2 separate regions of the Homo sapiens genome follow, and region 1 is linked to region 2. The links are contacts of gene promoters, found by promoter capture Hi-C in human tissues and cell types (Jung and others, 2019). All regions are on one chromosome and are shown on one strand. The core of a region is centred on a gene start or on the middle of the fragment in contact, and the rest is flanking DNA. Distances in the headings are between cores, read along the strand shown. Region 1 holds the start of MIR320C1 (microRNA 320c-1). Region 2 holds the start of ROCK1 (Rho associated coiled-coil containing protein kinase 1).

The links. Contacts are between HindIII fragments. The study calls those that stand out against the background at their distance.
Region 1: a contact is called between a fragment that was not itself captured here and the fragment with the promoter of ROCK1 in region 2, in 1 of the 25 tissues and cell types used here (dorsolateral prefrontal cortex).

The regions. Positions count from the first base shown.
Region 1 is chr18:21,681,088-21,684,983 of GRCh38, forward strand. It overlaps ABHD3 (abhydrolase domain containing 3, phospholipase), which reads right to left. Exons shown (of 9, transcript NM_138340.5): 4 at 2,833-2,878. MIR320C1 (microRNA 320c-1) reads left to right here and starts at 2,431; the gene lies at 2,431-2,502. The HindIII fragment of the contact is 7,816 bases long and covers 1-3,896 here.
Region 2 is chr18:21,109,731-21,114,181 of GRCh38, forward strand. It overlaps ROCK1 (Rho associated coiled-coil containing protein kinase 1), which reads right to left and starts at 2,083. Exons shown (of 33, transcript NM_005406.3): 1 at 1,088-2,083. The coding sequence starts at 1,180. RefSeq lists enhancers at 1,736-2,324, 1,978-2,272, 2,372-2,591, 2,622-2,681 and a silencer at 1,942-2,331. The HindIII fragment of the contact is 9,004 bases long and covers 1-4,451 here.

The sequences.
Region 1 (3,896 bases), core at 14-2,513, 570 kb after region 2:
ATCTCAGCTACTCCTGAGCTTCAACTTCTACCTGCACACTGATAATCTCAGTCTGTCTCTCTCTTGCTTGCCTATTTCTCCTGAAGGCCAGTCCAGTACATCCAAAAACTTACTGAAAATTTCCACCGGGATTATCTAAAAGCACCCTAAACATCTAAAATGGAATCTGTTATCTTTGTTACATCATAATCTCACAAATTCTTCTAAATTTCCTATTTCAGCAAATAGCAGCATCTTCCATCAGCCAGCCAAGCTAGAAACATTACCCTAGACTCCCTTGTCTTTACTTCCCACAATACGACTAATACTATTTTCTTCCCCTTGAATACTACTCATTTTTGTTCTCTCGTCTTTATTCCCCCTCCGTCTGCTTTCAAACTCCAAACTCCATGTAGGTCTGTAGTAACTGCTTTCTAACTGGCCTCCCAGCCTCCAGCCTCCAGCCTCCTTCCCCTCCATCTCTTTCTTTCCTACACACCACTGCCATGGTTCTCTTTCTAAAACATGACCATGATCAAATTATGCCCTTGCTTCAAAATATCAATGATTCAATACCAGGTTCTTAGGAGTCTACATGTGATTCTGGCCCTACCCTTCTAGCAAATTCCTGTCACTTCCAGAAAAGTAAGAAAGCATAAAACATAATGGTCAAAAACATAAGCACATAGATCACCTGGGTCTGAATCCTGGCTCTGTCATTTGTTGGGAGGGGTAAGTTCCTAACCTACCAGTGTCTTGTTTTCTTCATCTGTAAAATGCAGGACAGGGGCCAGGTGCAGTGGCTCACACCTGGAATCTCAGCACTTTGGGAGCATCGCTTGAGCCCAGGAGTTTAAGAGCAGCCTGGGCAACAGAGTGAGACCCCATCTCTACAAAACAAACAAATAAATAAATAAAAAATCAGCCAGGCATGGTGGCACACACCTCTGGTTCCACCTACTTGGGAAGCTGAGGTGGAAGGATCACTTGAGCCCAGGCGGTCGAGGCTACAGTGAGCCATGATTGTGCCACTGCACTCCAGCCTGGGCAACAGGGCAAGACCCTGTCTCCAAAAGGAAATGAGGGATAATGGGGGCTATACTTACCTAAATTGTTGGGCTGTTTCTATTTCTGAAGATTAAATAGGAAAAGACATAACTGATACATTCTACGGATTACATAAATATTAGATAAAATTATCATCATCATCCAGCCATAGTAAGTAGCTGCTACTGTACGCACTTTATAATACCTTGGTCTTTGCGCTGAGAGAGCCTCTCTCCCCGCTTTGGAGGTTCAATACCACAGCCTTCAAGATCCAACTCAGAACGCTACCTCCTCTCTAAGCTCTCCCACCTCCCCCAGGCGCTTTGTTACTCTTTCCCTTTGTGCTCTGTAGCCTTAACAAAGGCTACTGTTAAACACTTAGCACTGTGTATATTTTAATGGACTTGACTGTCTCTCCCACAACTAAAGTTTGAGCTCCTAAAGATTAGGGCTGTGTCTCATTAATATGTATATCTTCACCCTATTGGCTTGCACAGTGCCCGATTTAACAGGCACATACCACGGCTCTGCTGAATGAACAGATCTTTGTCCCTCACTTCATAAAGAACTAACGAGCTTGGCTTTGCAGCACATTATTTCCTTGAGAGCCTCAGACCATGTCTTCCCCCCCGGCTTTGTGTCCTGGAAGAATGCACAGCAGACAGGAGCTGCTCAAAATGATTTGCCTGGGCCAGGGCCACAGTGACACATTCAAATCTTTCCCTTTAGAGTACTATCTGTCTACGAGATTCCTAAAGGGCTGGATTGAATGAGAAAACGTGAACCTTCACGTCAAGCTATTTATTACAAGGCACTTGAGTAAGACCATAACACTCTGCAACTTTTGCTTTCGAAATCGTGTTGATCTTCATTTCCTCCAGTGCCTAAGTCACTGTAAAGCCAAGTACAAGAGGTTTTTACTTCCCAAGTTCTTATAAAGTGTTGACATTTGTGACCTGATTGTAAATTTTTATTTCCAGCATGACTTATTTATAGTCTTAATGTCATTCTCTATCAATGACCCAAAAAAAGTTTCTTTCAATTCTAGTAGAATTGCCTTTGACCTGTTGAGATTGTAAAAAGTTAAAAAGCTGAAGAAAATTTTAGCAAGTGGAATATTTCTCATTCCAACTCACGGATTTAAAGATCAGATAGAGTGATTTTCTAAGAGGTGAAAGATCTATCCTAGCAAAAACTCAGAATTAGAGGGGGAAAAAAAGACCTGATATAAATTTTAAAAGGTTTCAATAACATTCCCACCATGTAAACTTCAGCTGGCAAACAGGCATGTGACATACAAAATTGTTTCATGACAAATGTAAATTTCATAAGTGGAAAAAAAATCACTGTATTAGTTAATTTGTTTTGCACTGGTTAATTTTTAAGGAAAATGTGTTTTGCATTAAAAATGAGGCCTTCTCTTCCCAGTTCTTCCCAGAGTCAGGAAAAGCTGGGTTGAGAGGGTAGAAAAAAAATGATGTAGGTGAATAACTATCGATGTTAAAATGTAGTAAGTACAAAAGTTTAGTTACAAAATAGAATCTTAATTTTTATAAAAATAGAAATATATTATATATATTTTATTTATATATGAAATCTGAATGAACACAGACTAAGGGAATTTCCTTGGTTATACAATTATCGGTCTTGTAAATTTCCTTTTTTTCCATATCTGTATTTTTGTATAATAAATTTGTATTGCTTACATAAACAGAGTTATTTTAAATAAAAAGAATATGCTTTTTGTTATAAAACTAGAAATGATTCTTTAAAAAGTTAAGACTGTTGTCATTTAAATTTACTTACCAAGAGATTCTCCCCCGCCACTCCTCTGTTGTTAAAAACCACACATCTAAAAACCAGGAAAGCAATTTTTGTTATTTTTACACATGATTCTTGCTCATGATATAATATTAAAGTCATCTTACTGACACTGATTTAGAGCACTAAAAGATTTTAAAAATCTGTCTTGTAGTTGTAATGTTTGGCAATTTCATCTAAATGCAATGCACTAAAATAAAATTCCAGTTCTCTAAATTCCACATGTGGGTTCAAATTAGAAAACTGTATACTGAAGTGATGTTAATTTTTCCTACCAAGAGTAGACTATTTCCAACTTCTTCCTACGCACATACGTGGGCCTCCAACAAGTGTTTTTAAAACAATTCTAAATACAAGTCAAATTTAAATGTTTTTGCTTTTTTTTTTTTTTTTTTTTTTTGAGATGGAGTCTCGCTCTTGTCACCCAGGCTGGAGTGCAATGGTGCGATCTCGGCTCACTGCAACCTCCGCCTCCCAGGGTTCAAGCGATTCTCCTGCCTCAGCCTCCTTAGTAGCTGGGATTACAAGCACCCACCACCATGCGCGGCTAATTTTTTTTTGTATTTTTAGTAGACACAGAGTTTCACCATGTTGACCAGGCTGGTCTTGAACTCCTGACCTCAGGTGATACGCCCACCTCGGCCTCCCAAAGTGCTGGGATTACAGGCGTGAGCCACTGCGTCTGGCCTTGTTTTTGCTTTAAACAAAGAAAAAATATATATCCTCTACCCATTGCATTTGTAACATTCATACGTATCTATTTATATTCTAAGAAACAGCTCTTGTTCTCTTAAGGCTCAGCAAACATGGACACCAGAATTTTACATGAGGTGTAAACATCACAGGTGAGCCACAAAGAGCCTGGCACCTGAGCTGGTGGGATGGGCCCCATTATGCTACTGCTTAGTGTTCAGTTGACCTAGGGAGGAAAGATGACCTTGTGCTTTCTCTGATCCTGTTTGCATCTGCTGGGTAAATGGGCTCAGATCAATGTAAAGGGTTTAGATCAATGTTGGCTCAAGTAAGTACTCGGTGAAAGTTAGCTATTA
Region 2 (4,451 bases), core at 833-3,332:
TAACTGAAATGCACGTTAATTTTAAACAATCTACATTAATTTTCCTTTGATTCAAGATGCGATTTTTGAATTGTATTATTTCTTTGAATGGTATTATTTTGTTTCCTTAATCTTAATCCCCAAAATTGAGCATATCTAACATTATTTCACCGAAGACATTGTGAAATCCTGTCCATATACATGCTCCCTGAAACCTTATTTTAGAGATTATGTGGTTTTGTTTGGACCAAGAAATATTATATAACCCTTAGTTGTTCAGAAACTCTGAACAACTTTGATACATTTACAGAGGAAATGTATCAAACCTAAGAATTCCAATTATTTACAGATAACTGTATTATCAACCACTTAACTATTTTTAAAATGGGATTGTGGTTTTTCATGTCATAAAACCCTCTTTAGAATGTTTTACAAGTGACAATGTTAAGTGCCACACCACCAAAAAGACAGTTACAATAACTGTATGGTACGTACTTTTGTAACCAATAATACAATAAAATAAGTTAACACTGTAATTACCTATGACCAATTATCTTGGTTTTTTACAATAGTTTAGCAAAAAGTTCCTTCAAACTCAAATCACCTATGAAATTTTGGCTCAAAAATCACTTCCTCAATAGCAATTCTCCGTTATCATTTTCAAGGCTAAAAACTAAACCCCTAGGAGCTAAATCGCAAAAAGGAAAAAAAATGCAAAGTAGTCTTTCCAATTTAACTGTCAAACGGATCAGAAAGATTAACATTAATTACTACGATCGCCATTCAACAAACTGTATACATTGCAGTAACTCTGACGTGATAACTTTTTATAGGATGCCTGCAATAGCAGTTTGTAAGTATCTTTCGGGTACTCATGAACTGAGTCAGAATTAAAAGTTCAGAGTAGTTAGTACAGAGCCAGTCAAATGGCAAATAGGACCACACCATGAGATGTTAATGGTACTCCAAGATTCTTCAGGAAACAGAAATCTAGCATTTTCCAAGACGATTATGCACACCTGAGACTTTTGCAGCGAACCAGACTAATGCAAGAGGAAGGAAAGACATGCAAAACCCCAGACAAGCAAAAGAGAACAGCGCTACTCACCAGCAAACAATCCGAATTCACTTCCGATTTGGGATCCCGCAGCAGGTTGTCCATTTTTTCAAATCGAGTCTCAAAACTGTCCCCAGTCGACATGTTGCTGCTGCTGTGACAATGCCCTCTTACCAGCACCAGCAGCGGAAAGCAATTTCAACCAACTTCCTCCGCGGTGGGTTCGCAGCCGCGGGGCGGAGGAGCCGGAACCTCAGGGTCACCAGGTGCGCCCGGTTCCCCCGTCTTCCCCTCACTGAGGGGACCTCCGCTCTCCAGACCCCGGGCCGGGGGCAACAGCGACCCACAGCCGCTCGGACGCCCAAAGTCGCATCCCACCCGGCAGCCCCTCACGACAGCCGACAGCGCCGTCGCCACCAGCCTCGTCGCTCCGGCGAGGTGCTTCAGTCTAGCGGGCCCCGGCCGCCGTCGCCATGGAGGGGTCCCCGTCCCGAGATGGGCAGGAGCGGGTAGAGAAAGAGAAGCAGGGTGGAGACTCCCTCCGGGCAACAAGGGAGGGAGAAGAGGAAAGGCGAAAGCAAAGGGCGGGTGAGGAGCTGTGCCAGCTGCGGCCGCCGCTCGGGCCACGGGCCGGGCCCGCTCCGCTCAGAGGCGCTGTAGACGGTCTAGCCCCGCGTCCCCGGCTCTACTCGGCCCGGCCCGACGCACCGATCAGTCTCGGCCACGAGCTGGTCCACGCAGGACAGCCTCACTCTCCCATTTTGTCCCGTCGCTGCTGGGGCTGCTGCTACGGTGTCCGGTGGGGCAGGGCGAGGTCGATGCCCGATGGAGACTTAGCAGAGGAAAGGCTGGAGAGCGGGCGAAGAGGAAGACGATAGTTGGGTCCCGGCGGCTGCTGATGGGGGAGCTTCTGGGAGGGGCTGCGGTCCCAGCCGGGGAAAGGGCGAGTCGCGGCGGCGAATGCCTGGGGGGTGGGGCGAGGGGGGCTGAGAGGGACTAATATGTCCGCCTTCCTGTTCAAACAAACGGAGACCGCCGGGGCAGACTGCGCATGCGGGGCGCGGACGCTCGGAAGGGGAACCAGCCGGGACCCCGCGCGCGCGCGCGCACTCTGTCGCCTCCGCAGGGTGGGGTGGGGCGGGGCGGTGAGGTGGGCGGGGCCTTGCGGGCAGGCGGTGGAGAAGGCGGACCGCTGGGAGGAGCCGAGTGCGGGTAAGCAGCTGCCGGCAAGGTTCTCGCCTTGGCCGGCTCTGAGGAGCCATGCAGGGCTCTGGAGCGGCCTTGGAGGTCCGGACGGAGGCGGAGCTCTGGCTGCTTCTGATCGCTGTCCCGGCAGATGCCCCAGCTCTGTTTCCTCTGGGTTGCAGCCAGTCCAGAGACTTCTGACGAGGAGAGAGTGCTTGTTCTCCTTGTTGCTGTTAGGGTGGGGCAATAGGTTCTTTTTTAGGCAAGAAGCCTTTTCGTCGGCAGGTACCAGCATTGAGCACCAGTGGCGTTTGGTTTTCAGTGGTACTCCATGGACAGCCCTCCGCGAGCCCCGGCGTTGAACCCATTTACGATTCACTGGGAAAGTTCCGAAGCGCTGCAGCGCTCAGCCCTCCCACGCCAGGCGTGTGTGTCAGGGGAGCCATAAAATACTGACTCCGGAAGATACAGTCAATAGAAGTCAAGCTCAATTTAATTTTTTTAAAGGAAAATAATCTCGTAGAAAAAAATCAATATTTTTAAGTCGTTCGTGTTAGTTCTCATAACACCCCTACTGTAGTTCTCTCCTGGACGTGTAATGCTGCCGTTTCAATGTCAAAACATTCAGTGAAACTTAATTGTGATTTTTATCAGAACTAATGTAGGACATGAGAATAATGGGCATTTCTCCTAGTTCCGTTACTTCGTTGACTGTGGTGTGAGGAAAGGTGAAAGACTTGTCACTCACCCCCGCTGATAAAGTTATGTTCTTCACTGGTTTCAGCAGGAAATCTACCTTAATTTATTCCTCATCAAACTTTATTTTTGCTCAGAAGCCAAATTAAGGATCACTAGAAATAGAAAATGTGGATCTTTTACCCCATGATGGAAAATGCTACAGATGAACCAAAAAGCATCGGAGTAAAAAGCATCGTACAGCATCTGAACAGTCCACCAGCCTTACGATGTGAGTCAGAGGTTAGGAAAATCTTACACTGTTTGAAAAAATGTCTATTTCTATTTTCAATTTATTAAATACAAGAAATATTTAGATATAAAATCCACTATATATATCAAGATAGGACGTTCTTGGTTTATACAAAAATCATAACAAAGACAACTAGACAAACCAGGTATTTCATTAAATGCCTTTGCAGCGACTTTTCTTGGCTCCAGCATTTTAAGTCATGTGAATTAGACTTATTTTTAAGCATAGGGCTTAAAATAAATCAGGCAGTTGCCCTAAAATAAATTTCCTAAACCCTGCTTGTCTTTTTTTTATTATTATTACCATTTTTAGGTATTAGGAATTTTGTTGTTTCTCAGAGAACCGTGAACATTATGTTGCTTTCCATTTAGACACATACGAAAAAATACAAGTAGTTAAGACAATACATGAGTGACACTGATAAATATAAGTGGAAGTGATAACCAACCTGGCAGAACTACTAGAAATATATGTGGGGTCCATATATTTCTAGAAATATCTACTAGAAATATAGGTGGGGTCCATATATAGCTTACTTACCTACAAGGCTCTTCTGATTATTGTGACACATCACTAGTTATCTTCTGCCATAAGATAGATGGACTCTAAATCTAGTTATCTTCTGCCATAAGATAGATGGACTCTAAATTAACTTTTTTTTTTTTCTCCGAGGCGGAGTTTCACTCTTGTCTACCAGTCTGGAGTGCAGTGGCACGATCTCGGCTCACTGCAACCTCTGCCTCCCGGGTTCAAGCGATTCTCCCGCCTCAGCCTCCGGAGTAGCTGGGATTACAGGCACACGCCACCACGCCCAGCTAATTTTTGGTGTTTTGTTTGTTTTATTTTGTTTTGAGATGGAGTTTCACTCTTGTTGCTCAGGCTGGTGTGCAATGTCGCGATCGCGGCTCACCGCAACCTCCACCTTCTGGATTCAAGTGATTCTCCTGCCTCCCGAATAGCTGGGATTACAGGCATGCTCCACCATGCCCAGCTAATTTTGTATTTTTAGTCGAGATGGGGTTTCTCCATGTTGGTCAGGATGGTCTTGAACTCCCGACCTCAGGTGATCCGCCCACCTTGGCCTCCGGAAATGTTGGGATTACAGGCGTGAGCCACTGCCCTGGCCTATTTTTATATTTTTAGTAGAGATGGGGTTTCACCATGTTGGCCAGGCTGGTCTCGAACTCCTGACCTCGTGATCCACCCTCTTCGGCCTCCCAAAGTGCTGGGACTACAGGCGTG